3 separate regions of the Homo sapiens genome follow, and regions 1 and 2 are each linked to region 3. The links are contacts of gene promoters, found by promoter capture Hi-C in human tissues and cell types (Jung and others, 2019). All regions are on one chromosome and are shown on one strand. Each heading gives the region's core, a stretch centred on a gene start or on the middle of the fragment in contact. The rest is flanking DNA. Distances are from core to core; before and after follow the strand shown. Region 1 has its middle 45 kb from the start of CABLES1. Region 2 overlaps CABLES1 (Cdk5 and Abl enzyme substrate 1). Region 3 holds the start of CABLES1 (Cdk5 and Abl enzyme substrate 1).

The links. Contacts are between HindIII fragments. The study calls those that stand out against the background at their distance.
Region 1: a contact is called between a fragment that was not itself captured here and the fragment with the promoter of CABLES1 in region 3, in 5 of the 25 tissues and cell types used here (lymphoblastoid cells, mesenchymal stem cells, neural progenitor cells and 2 more).
Region 2: a contact is called between a fragment that was not itself captured here and the fragment with the promoter of CABLES1 in region 3, in 2 of the 25 tissues and cell types used here (aorta and lymphoblastoid cells).

What each region holds. Positions count from the first base shown.
Region 1 is chr18:23,088,725-23,092,284 of GRCh38, reverse strand. No RefSeq gene overlaps it. Among named protein-coding and RNA genes, the nearest start is that of CABLES1, 45 kb to the left of the region's middle. The HindIII fragment of the contact is 7,157 bases long and covers 1-3,560 here.
Region 2 is chr18:23,177,419-23,180,983 of GRCh38, reverse strand. The region is part of intron 1 of CABLES1 (Cdk5 and Abl enzyme substrate 1); the gene reads right to left. Among named protein-coding and RNA genes, the nearest start is that of CABLES1, 44 kb to the right of the region's middle. RefSeq lists a silencer at 298-347. The HindIII fragment of the contact is 3,734 bases long and covers 374-3,565 here.
Region 3 is chr18:23,133,710-23,136,846 of GRCh38, reverse strand. It overlaps CABLES1 (Cdk5 and Abl enzyme substrate 1), which reads right to left and starts at 1,362. Exons shown (of 10, transcript NM_001100619.3): 1 at 240-1,362. The coding sequence starts at 1,084. RefSeq lists silencers at 494-743, 844-1,053, 1,184-1,393, 1,514-1,593, 2,354-2,463 and 2 more and an enhancer at 2,014-2,163. The HindIII fragment of the contact is 17,284 bases long and covers 1-3,137 here.

The DNA of each region.
Region 1 (3,560 bases), core at 473-2,972, 45 kb after region 3:
GGCCACGGACTGAGAGTTATACCATTGGCTTCCCCAGTTCTGAGGCTTCGAACTTGGGCAAAGCCACACTACCATCATCCCCGGGTCTCCAGCTTCCAGATGGCCTGTCATGGGACTTCTCAGCTTCCATAATCACATGAGCCAATTCCCCTCATAAATCCCCTCTCATGTCTCTATATATCCTATTGGATCCATCTATCTGGAGAACACTGACTCATCTAAAGCATCTTAAAAATAAGAATATATATATATATATATATATTTTAAAAAGGAATATATATGTGTACACACACACACACACACACACACACACACACACACATATATATATATTTTTTTTTTTTTTTGAGACAGGATCTTGCTCTGCCACCCAGGCTGGAGTGCAGTGGCGCCATTATGGCTCACTGCAGCCTTGACCTCCTGGGCTCAAGCAATACCCCTGCCTTGGCCTCCTGAGTAGCTGGGACTACAGGCACGTGCCACCAAAACTGGCTAAAAATATACACATATTCTTAAAAATGATTATTCAGCCATGACTTGCAATTTATAAAGAACAAGAACAAAGCTTATCTTTAAAATAATCATTTTATTAATCGTCCATTGCCACTCCTTTGGTCAGAGTTTCTCTAGGTGGTAGCTGCTTTTCTCACTCCTATTCTTTAATATAGCAAAAGAAGAAGCCTTCAAATGAAGTTAATATGAAACCAGAGACAGTGAAGAGAGAGAACCAGAGGTTGAGAAGAGGAAATACCAGCTTCTTTCGGGATGATGTTACTTCCTTTTTCAAGACAAAAAAAAAAAAAACAGTCTTTTCATGTTGGATTGTCAAGGCATAAATTGTAGTGTGGTTCCTAAATGTCTGACAATAGGGAAATCATTTAATAAATTATAGTACTGTCAAACAATGAAGTATCATGAGCCAATTAAAATGAATTTTTTAGGTTGGGTGCAGTGGCTCACGCCTGTAATCCCAGCACTTTGACAGGCTGAGGCAGGTGGATTGCTTGAGGTCAGGAGTTTGAGTCCAGCCTGGCCAACATGGTGAAACTCCGTCTCTACTAAAAATACAAAAGTTAGCTGGGTGTGGTGGTGCGTGCTTGTAATCCCAGCTACTCAAGAGGCTGAGGCAGGAGACTCTTTAACCTGGGAGGCGGAGGTTGCAGTGAGCTGAGATGGCACCAGGGCTCTCCAGCCTGGGCAACAGAGACTCTGTCTCAAAATAATAATAATAGTAATAATAATAATAAGTTTTTAATGGGCAACATTTTAGTGTGGAGAAATCCATAAGATAAAGTGATAAATGATAAAAATCAGAATATAAAACTATGTGTGATATGATTACAAGGTTGTTTTATACACACACACAAGATAGGCATTGCAGTATTAACAGAGGTTATCATCAGATGTTGAAGTTATGGCTTTAAAAACATGAATTATTATACTTTTTATTTTCCAAATATTTATATGGGCATTTATTATTTTTATAATAAAAGTTGGATATAAAATAATAAAGGGTTTTCATATTGTGGTTGAACTGTAAATGAGAGTTACTGAAGATTAGAGTTTCCAAAAATAAACATGTGGTTTTAATAGTCCTGTCTCATTGTGAATAGAAATACAATTTTTCGGCCGGGCGCGGTGGCTCACGCCTGGAATCCCAACACACTGGGAGGCTGAGGTGGGTGGATCACGAGGTCAGGAGTTCAAGACCAGTCCGGCCAACATGGTGAAAACCCGTCTCTACTAAAAATACAAAAATTAGCCGGTCGTTGTGGTGCGTGCCTATAATCCCAGCTACTTGGGAAGCTGAGACAGGAGAATTTCTTGAACCCGGGAGGGGGAGGTTGCAGTGAGCTGAGATCATGCCACTGCACTCCAGCTTGGGTGACAGAGCAAGACTCCGTCTTGGAAAAAAAAGAAGAAGAAGAAATACAGATTTTCTATGTTGTTTTCCCTTATCCTAGGTGCTTTTTAGCAGATTCCTATTGCACTAAGTGGTTCAGATCTTCTTAGCATGTACAGAATTTTTCAGGAGTTAGTGTTAAATGTTTTGGGCAAATGACTTTCAGACAACTGGGGCTCAGCCTAGCAAAGGAATCCTGCAGTACACTAAGAGTTTCCTTCTAATTTAAAGGAGATTCTTCTTTCTTTCTTTCTTTCTTTCTTTCTTTCTTTCTTTCTTTCTTTCTTTCTTTCTCTTTCTTTCTTTCCTTTCTTTCTTTCTCTTTCTTTCTTTCTTTCTTTCTTTCTTTCTTTCTTTCTTTCCTTCCTTCCTTCCTTCTTTCCTTCCTTCTTTCTTCCTTTCTTTCTTTCTCTTTCTTTCTTTCTTTCTCTTTCTTTCTTTCTTTCTTTCTTTCTTTCTTTCTTTCTTTCCTTCCTTCCTTCCTTCCTTCCTTCCTTCCTTCCTTCTTTCCTTCCTTCTTTCTTCCTTTCTTTCTTTCTCTTTCTTTCTTTCTTTCTCTTTCTTTCTTTCTTTCTTTCCTTCCTTCCTTCCTTCCTTCCTTCCTTCCTTCCTTCTTTCCTTCCTTCTTTCTTCCTTTCTTTCTTTCTTTCTTTCAGACAGAGTCTCGCTCTGTCGCCAGGCTGGAGTGCAGCGGCGCAATCTCGGCTCACTGCACGCTCCGTCTCCCAGGTTCAAGTGATTGTGCTCCCTCAGCCTCCCAAGTAGCTGGGACTACAGGCGCCCGCCACCACGCCCAGTTAATTTTTGTATTTTTAGTAGAGATGGGGTTTCACCATGTTGGCCAGGATGGTCTTGATCTCTTGATCTCGTGATCCACCTGGCTTGGCCTCCCAGAGTGCTGGGATTACAGGCGTGAGCTACTGTGCCCGGCCCCCCACCAACTCTTTTTTTTTTTTTTGAGATGGAGTTTTGCTCTCGTGTTCCATGCTGGAGTGCAGTGCCGTGATCTCGGCTCACTGCAACCTCTGCCTCCCAGGTTCAATCAATTCTCCTGTCTCAGCCTCCCAAGTAGCTGGGATTACCAGCATGCACCACGCATAGCTAATTTTGTATTTTTAGTAGAGACCGGTTTTCACCATGTTGGCCAGGCTGGTATCAAACTTCTGACCTCAGGTGATATGCCCGCCTCAGCCTTCCAAAGTATTGGGATTATAGGCGTGAGCCACCATGGCCGGCCAATTTCAATTTGTCGACTTGAAGTGTCTGCTAAACATAAGACTCAAACCAAGAAAATCCCCTAGGGAATAAATATGGCAAAAATAGGGTGAAGACGCATTTTTATGAACAGGTATTTGAATATTAAATGTTGAAAAGAAAGACTTATTCATTTGAGATAAACTAAAAACCACTTGAAATTTAAATATGGCACCTGGTTCTAATGTAGAGGTGTTAATTTCTTCCTTGAAAATTATTTTTAAAACTTAATTAGAAAAACAACAGAAAACTTAGATTCGTATTTCCCCCAAAGCTGGCCAGCCCTCATGGAGAAGAGCGGGGCATCTTTCACAGTCCCCATCAGCGAGGTTTACTGGGATGAGATGGATTAAGAGGAGGCCTGGGAGAACACCCGGGGCCACAGAGCCGCACCTCCAGGGCT
Region 2 (3,565 bases), core at 991-3,490, 43 kb before region 3:
GCAAGAAAAGGCTTGGGGCATATTAGCCTAGAAAGCAGGGTTGGCCCTTGAGGCAACTAGAAAATCCCTTTTTTGTTACAGAATCTCTGACTTTCTGGGCGGAAGCCTCCATCCCCTGCTTCTTGCATCCCTCCATCCCCCCACCACAGACATAATCTTTTGCTCTTGAAATGGTGTTCAGCTCATGCAGAAAAGGTGTCCTAAAAAGTAGGGTACAAATCTGTAGTTTGTAACTGTTTGACTATGGAAGCCTACTACTTAAAGGAGCCCTAAAATGAAAAACTATATATAAACCCAAGAATTAAAATCAGCTGCGCTTAGTGGCATGCACCGGCAGTCTCAGCTACTCAGGAGGCTGAGGCACGCTTGAACACAGGAAGTCGAGGTTGCAATGAGTTATGATCGCATTACTGCACTCTAGCCTGGGTGACAGAGTGAGACCCTGTCTCTACAAATAAATAAGTAAACACATAAGCCCAAGAATTGTACTATCATGTGTATGTCATTTGTGAAATGCTGGTTTTCAAATACTAGGCTCTCTTAAAGGAAAATGCCCCTCCATCACCCTATTGTTATTTCCTTCATTTCCCTAGCAGCATCTTAAGCTGTTGACTGCCACAGCACCATCAGCCTGCTCCTCACATTCATCAGATAAGTGATGATAACATTGTTCGTGAGTTGGCAAACTTCAATGCCAAGATTCCAGATGCTCCTCCAGCAGAAGTCCAATCAGACTGCGCTCACTTAAAAAAAACAAACTGTTGGCCAGGCGCGGTGGCTCATGCCTGTAATCCTAGCACTTTGGGAGGCTGAGGCGGGTGGATCACGAGGTCAGGAGATCGAGACCATCCTGGCTAACACGGCGAAACCCAGTCTCTACTAAAAATTAAAAAAAAAATTAGCCGGGCGTGGTGGCGGGCGCCTGTAGTCCCAGCTACTCAGAAGGCTGAGGCAGGAGAATGGCCTGAACCCGGGAGGCGGAGCTTGCAGTGAGCCAAGATTGCGCCACTGCACTCCAGCCTGGGCAACAGAGCGAGACTCCGTCTCAAAAAACAAAAAACAAAAATAAAAACAAAAACAAAACAAAACTGTTTCACCCTAGTACACGTGTTCACAGATGAAGAAAAAAAAGTCAGCTGCTACCTCTTAACAGAAGATACACAGACCCTTAAAGCAAAACGGCCTTCCCTTCAGCCTGAGGACACATCCATTAGACACATGCTTTGTTTTGTTGTCCACGGATCTAAAGCTTTGTCCAGCAGCAAAAGTGCCGATGAAAGTAAGCATGGCCCTTACTGCTCACCTGGCAGCAGCTGCTTGTTAGACCCTGGAGGAACTCCAAGAGGAGAGCCACAGAGTCTGACACTACAGTGGCATACTGGCCGGGCCAGGTCACCAGGCTGGGGTGACTGGAGGAGCATTTGGTCTTGACCAGTCAGCCTGATGCCATCCATACCTCTGAGCACTGGGCACACAGCTGGCTTGGAAGGAAAACCTCCTCCCCGAGCCTCAACTAACACGCTGAAAGCCAGATCCATATCCAGAATACAGACCAAAGGAATTCAAAATCCCTGGGGTGGGGGAGTCACTGGGATTTTTCTTGTAAAGGAAGGAAGACAGGATTATCTTTAAGAAAAGGAGGGATGGTTAGATTTTTTTAAATTAGACACAATGGGAAGAAACCGTTTTTTCTTTATTTTTTTAGACGGAGTCTCTGTCTCCCAGGGTGGAGTGCAGTGGCGCGATCTCGGCTCACTGCAACCTCTGCTTCCTGGGTTCAAGCGATTCTCCTGCCTCAGCCCCCTGAGTAGCTGGGATTACAGGGACCCGCCACAATACCCGACTAATTTTTGTATTTTTAGTAGAGACAGGGTTTCACCGTGTTGGCCAGGCTGGTCTCGAACTCCTGGCTTCAGGCAATTGGCCCGCCTCGGCCTCCCAAAGTGTTGGGATTACTGGTGTGAGCCACCACGCCCGGCCAAGAAACTGGTTTTGAATCTGGCTATGTTTTAAAGTCTCCAGCTGATGAATCAGGCAAAAACCAAATTAAAATCAATACACTAGAGTTGCCAATCAGCTTGTTCAAATAAGGTCTGTTTCTACATTTTCATAGGCGGGTCAAGAAAGCGACTCTCTAAATGTTTACAGAGAATACAAAAGGCTCTTGGCTTGCCTGAGTTTACTTTTGTTTCAAGGGCTCTCATCAGACTTGCCAAATCCTGAAAAATCAAGGTGTGAGGTTATCTTGGTATATGGGGCTATTTAGAGCTGACAGGAACTGCTGCTAGGATTTAATAGCTGGCCAGAAATTCATCCCCAAAGATCTCCCAGTCTACCCTGCCCACTGCTGTCCTGCTAATCTTGAAAAACACTCTTTCCCTCATGTCAGTCCCTACTTGAAGATCCAGTGATACCCCCTGGGAACAAGTTCAAACTCTTTTGACAAAGGGTCTAGAGGGAAGGTCAGAACACAGCAGCAGACACAGCACACCTGGCCGCCATGAAGGTACATGCCCAGGGTCCCTGGACAGCCTTAGGGTATCAGGACATCAGGCGGCCAGCCCAGGGTCCCTGGACAGCCTTAGGGTATCAGGACATCAGGCGGCCAGCCCAGGGTCGCTGGCTCAGTGGCAGTGCTGCATTCTAATTCATACTTGGCCTCGTCCCAGAGGGAGGGGCCCTGCCCTGCTGCTGTAGGGGCACACAATGGAATACGCAGAAGGGTAGAACCAGGAGAAGCAGGTACTGGGTACTGGTTGAAAAAAAAAAATCAGGATCCGAAAAGGTTTTGTGTGGCTGATGAGATAAACCGCTTTGATCTTGCTACAGAACACATTGGATACTCATGGAGGGGGTGGGGAAGAAAAGTGGGGGCCCAGCCAGGACAGGATATGGGTGGGAAGGGAATATTGGAAAGGGAAAACCACTAGAAATAAAAGGGCCAGCTTCACCCTAGACAGAAATGCGCCCTATGCATCTAAGTCCAAGGAGTTTGCGGCCAACTTACCTATGTTCTGAATGGGCGTCAGGCTCCAAGGAATCAAATCCAGGCGTTCTCTGCAAAGGGCTTCCCTGAGCCGGGCAAGGAGGGTGGCTGGGAATGCAGCACCTGGTCCCATGGTTTAAGGATACTGTGGAGTGTGTCCACACCTGGAGGCCAAACCAGGTGTGGAGTACATGGGGGAGCCAGGGAGAGCCAAGGTTTTAATTGGGAGAGGAGAAGAGAGTACCTCTAACAGAGGGAGCAGGCAGGCCATGGCAGGGGGCCTGAGGGGCTTCCTACATGCACCTTCCCAGAGCCCAACAGGACAGGACAGAACTGGGACTCGGTGAGGCATAGGAAGAATTCCTCCCAGCAAAGTCCGGCCCCAGGAAAAGAGCCCAGCGGGAACCAGGAGACAGACAGGCTCGCAATCAGAGGGCCAGGCTTGGCTCCAGGAGGACCCGGACAGAGACCCCAACAGCCAAGTGGACAAGCTGACCACACATAGACCGGCGGGGCTGGGGCTGGTATCACAGCACAATGAACGTGTGTGTGTGTGTGTGTGTGTGTGTGTGTGTGTGT
Region 3 (3,137 bases), core at 113-2,612:
CAAGCGCGGTGCTCCTCTGCGAATGCTGGGCTCGTGCAAACACGTGTAACCCCGCACTCCCTGGGGACGCCCCCTCTTTTGGGTGCCCTCGTGGTTTGGGATTCGGGCCCGGAGCACAGGATCCGGCAGGGCGCGGGAAAATGGGAGCAACCCGTGTCCCGTAGCCCAGAGACCGCGGGGAGGCTGGGAGCGCCGGGCGGGACGCAGGGTTGGGTGCGCGTCGCATCCCGGATACTCACCGGGACCTCTGCAGCTGCTCGAAGGCGCTGGTGCTGCCGCCCTGGCCTGGCTGCTCCAGGGAGCAGTAGTTCTGCGAAGTCGGCCTGGAGAAGGCGATGGGCAGGATTCCCTGAGTGAACGAGTTGAGGCGTCCCCGACTGCCGCTCCCACTCCCGGGGGTCCCGGAGCCCAAAAAGGCGGCCGCCGGCACCTGCACGCTGATAAAGGCATCGTCCTCCTCCAACTCCTCCTGCCCGGCGGCCCCGGACCCGTCGAGCAGCTGCAGTTGGGCACAGGCGGCGAGAGGCGCCGGCCGGGGCGGCTGCCACTGCTCCCCCGACGCCCGGCCGGCGCCCAGGGGACTCGCGAACCCCCGCGCCACCCCGGGGCCGGACACGGTCGCATGGCCGCCAGGAATCAAGGGCGGCAGCGACGAGGGCTGTGGGAGGCAGGGGCCGGACCCAGCGGCTAACCCCGCAGCCGGCGTGCCCGGCGCGGCGAGCGCGATGCAGCCGCCCCGCTCGGCAGCGGCGAGCAAGCTGAACCGAGTCCTCGCGCCGCAGGCGCCGCCGGCGCCCGGCTTGGCCGCGCCGCCCTCCTCGCCACCGCCCCACTCCGCGTCCTGCGGCGGCAGCCGGCCGTCCAGCGAGATGTTGGTGAGGAAGGAGAGGGCAGCCTGGCGGCGCCGCGGGTCCATGCGCGGCTTCCGGGGGGGTTCGGGCGGCGGCTGGGCCGGCGCGGCGGCCGCGGGCTGAGGCTGGGGCTGCGGCGGCGGCTGCTGCAATCCGCTGGCGCCCGCGGCGTCGGTGCCGGCGCTGCCGCTGCTGCAGGCGGCCGTGGTGGCGGCCGCCGCCGCCGCCGCCATTGTGTCCGTCTGCGGCGGGATTTCCGCGATGCCCGGAGAAGCGAGCGGCGCCCGAGCGCTAAGCGGCGGGCGCGAGCGGCGGCGACCCGGGCTGGGTAGGGCGCGGGGATCGGGCGGCGTGCGCGGCGGTCCAGCCCCCCCGCGGGCGGGCCATGCTCGCCCCTCGGTGCTGGGGATGGGGGCGCCGCCGCCCCGGCCCACGCGCACGCCTCGCTACCTAGCTCGGCTAGTTCGGCTCGCTGGCTGGCCGCCCGCCGGTCGCCTGGCCGCTGGCTCGCGGGCTCCGGGGCCGGGTGTCCGTATTTATAGGTGCGCGCGCCCCGCGCTCGCGCTCCAAAGCCCTCTTTGCAATAACACGGAATCACGTGTGGGGAATGCGACCTGGGAGGAAAACAAAGCCGCAGGCGGCGGCCGCAGAGGCAGACGGCGGGAGGCAAGGGGCCACGGGAGGAGGAAGAGGAGGACGCGAGAGCCGAGCGGGTGGTGGGGCGGGGGATCGGCCCGGCTGTCCGGGTTGTCGGAGCTGCCTGCTGGGAGAGTTGGCGACTCCCGGGGCCGCGGAAGCCAGGTGCGGGAGGCGAGCACGTTTCCCCCGCGCGCTCGCACTGGGAATTGGGTGAGCGAGCAGAACCCGGTGGGTTAGGTCCTGGGGCTGTGCTCCTGGGAGAGTTGTGGGTCTACAGGACGGTTATGTGGAGCGTTGCAGAGTTTTGGACTGCGAGCGAGTTACTTGGACCCCGCAAGGCCGTTGGTCCCCGAGAAGTAAATAGATCCTTTTCATAATAACACGGGTAAGTCCACAGCCCCTATGGAGACTGTCCCACCGTAAAGCTATCGCTAACAACCATTGCAGTTGGGTCTATTCATTCCCAGGCCAAGGATGCAGCCCCCGGGATAAATGCACGCCTTGGGATGCATAAGAGCCCAGAAGCACGAACATCTTACATGTGGCCAACGAACTCACGCATCCCCAATCCATGGTATTGTCACTTTTCATCTCTCTCTTAGCAAAGGACAACGCAAATTTTTTACTTTGGCTCTGAAATGTGCTCCATTTTCTGTGAAGACCCAGGTGGGCTAAAATGACCTTACACTCTTTTCCCCTGGTCACCTTGCAAATTTTTGTAGATTATGATCTCTTCTCCCTCATAAACTGGGACCAATGTGGACAGTTACCCTGTCGTTTATCTCATAAGCACGTTTGGCACCTACCATGTCTTCTATAAATACGGGTTCCTGACGGCCCTCCCAGAGCAGTAGCTCTGAATCTGGGAGGAGTCGCAGTCCCCACCCACAACGAATGCTTGTTTTGGTTGGGGGTGGGGGCGGGGGCGGGGACAGGGTGGAGGAGTTCACCTGGAGGGATCTGAAAACGTGTGCGGGTTTCCCCAGGCGGTATGGGCAACTTAACAAATGCAGTAAGGAACAATTGCCACACTGAATTAAGCTCTGTGACACCTAAGAAACCTGCTGCACTTTTGAGGGAGAAGCAATGTGTTTCAGATCAACGGATTAATTTAATTAAAGGTTTAAATTTAGCCCTGGAGCTAATGGGTAACTCTACATTGAAATTCCACTCCATTTCAAGTTCAGGAAAGTAAATTGAGTAATGGAGAGCAAATACACCGTCCAGAGAGGTGCCGCCAACCCGGAGTGCCAGACAGAGAGGGTTTCAGGTTACATTTGCTCAGGACAGAGATGGCACGTGGCCCTTTACATGAACAATCGTTGTTATATTTTATTTTGTGCTGTTTTTAGGCCTTTTGAAAACATGGAGCCTGGTGTCTGTTTACAGCAGCCTCATGTCAGTGGAGTCAAAGCTCAATGGCCAGCTCTGTGAAATTTCACCAGGATTTTAATTATTTTGGCTAACTACCTTGAAACTTCCAAGCCCTTTTATGACAATTGACTTAATTTACATGACCACTGGCCTGGTTGGGAGGCAGTGTTAAGTGAAAGACTCCAACGGTGCTCCTGTAAAATATATTTTCCATCATTCAAAAATGATAAATGTTAATTTCAGAACATAAGATAAGCAAAGAGGAGCAAAAAA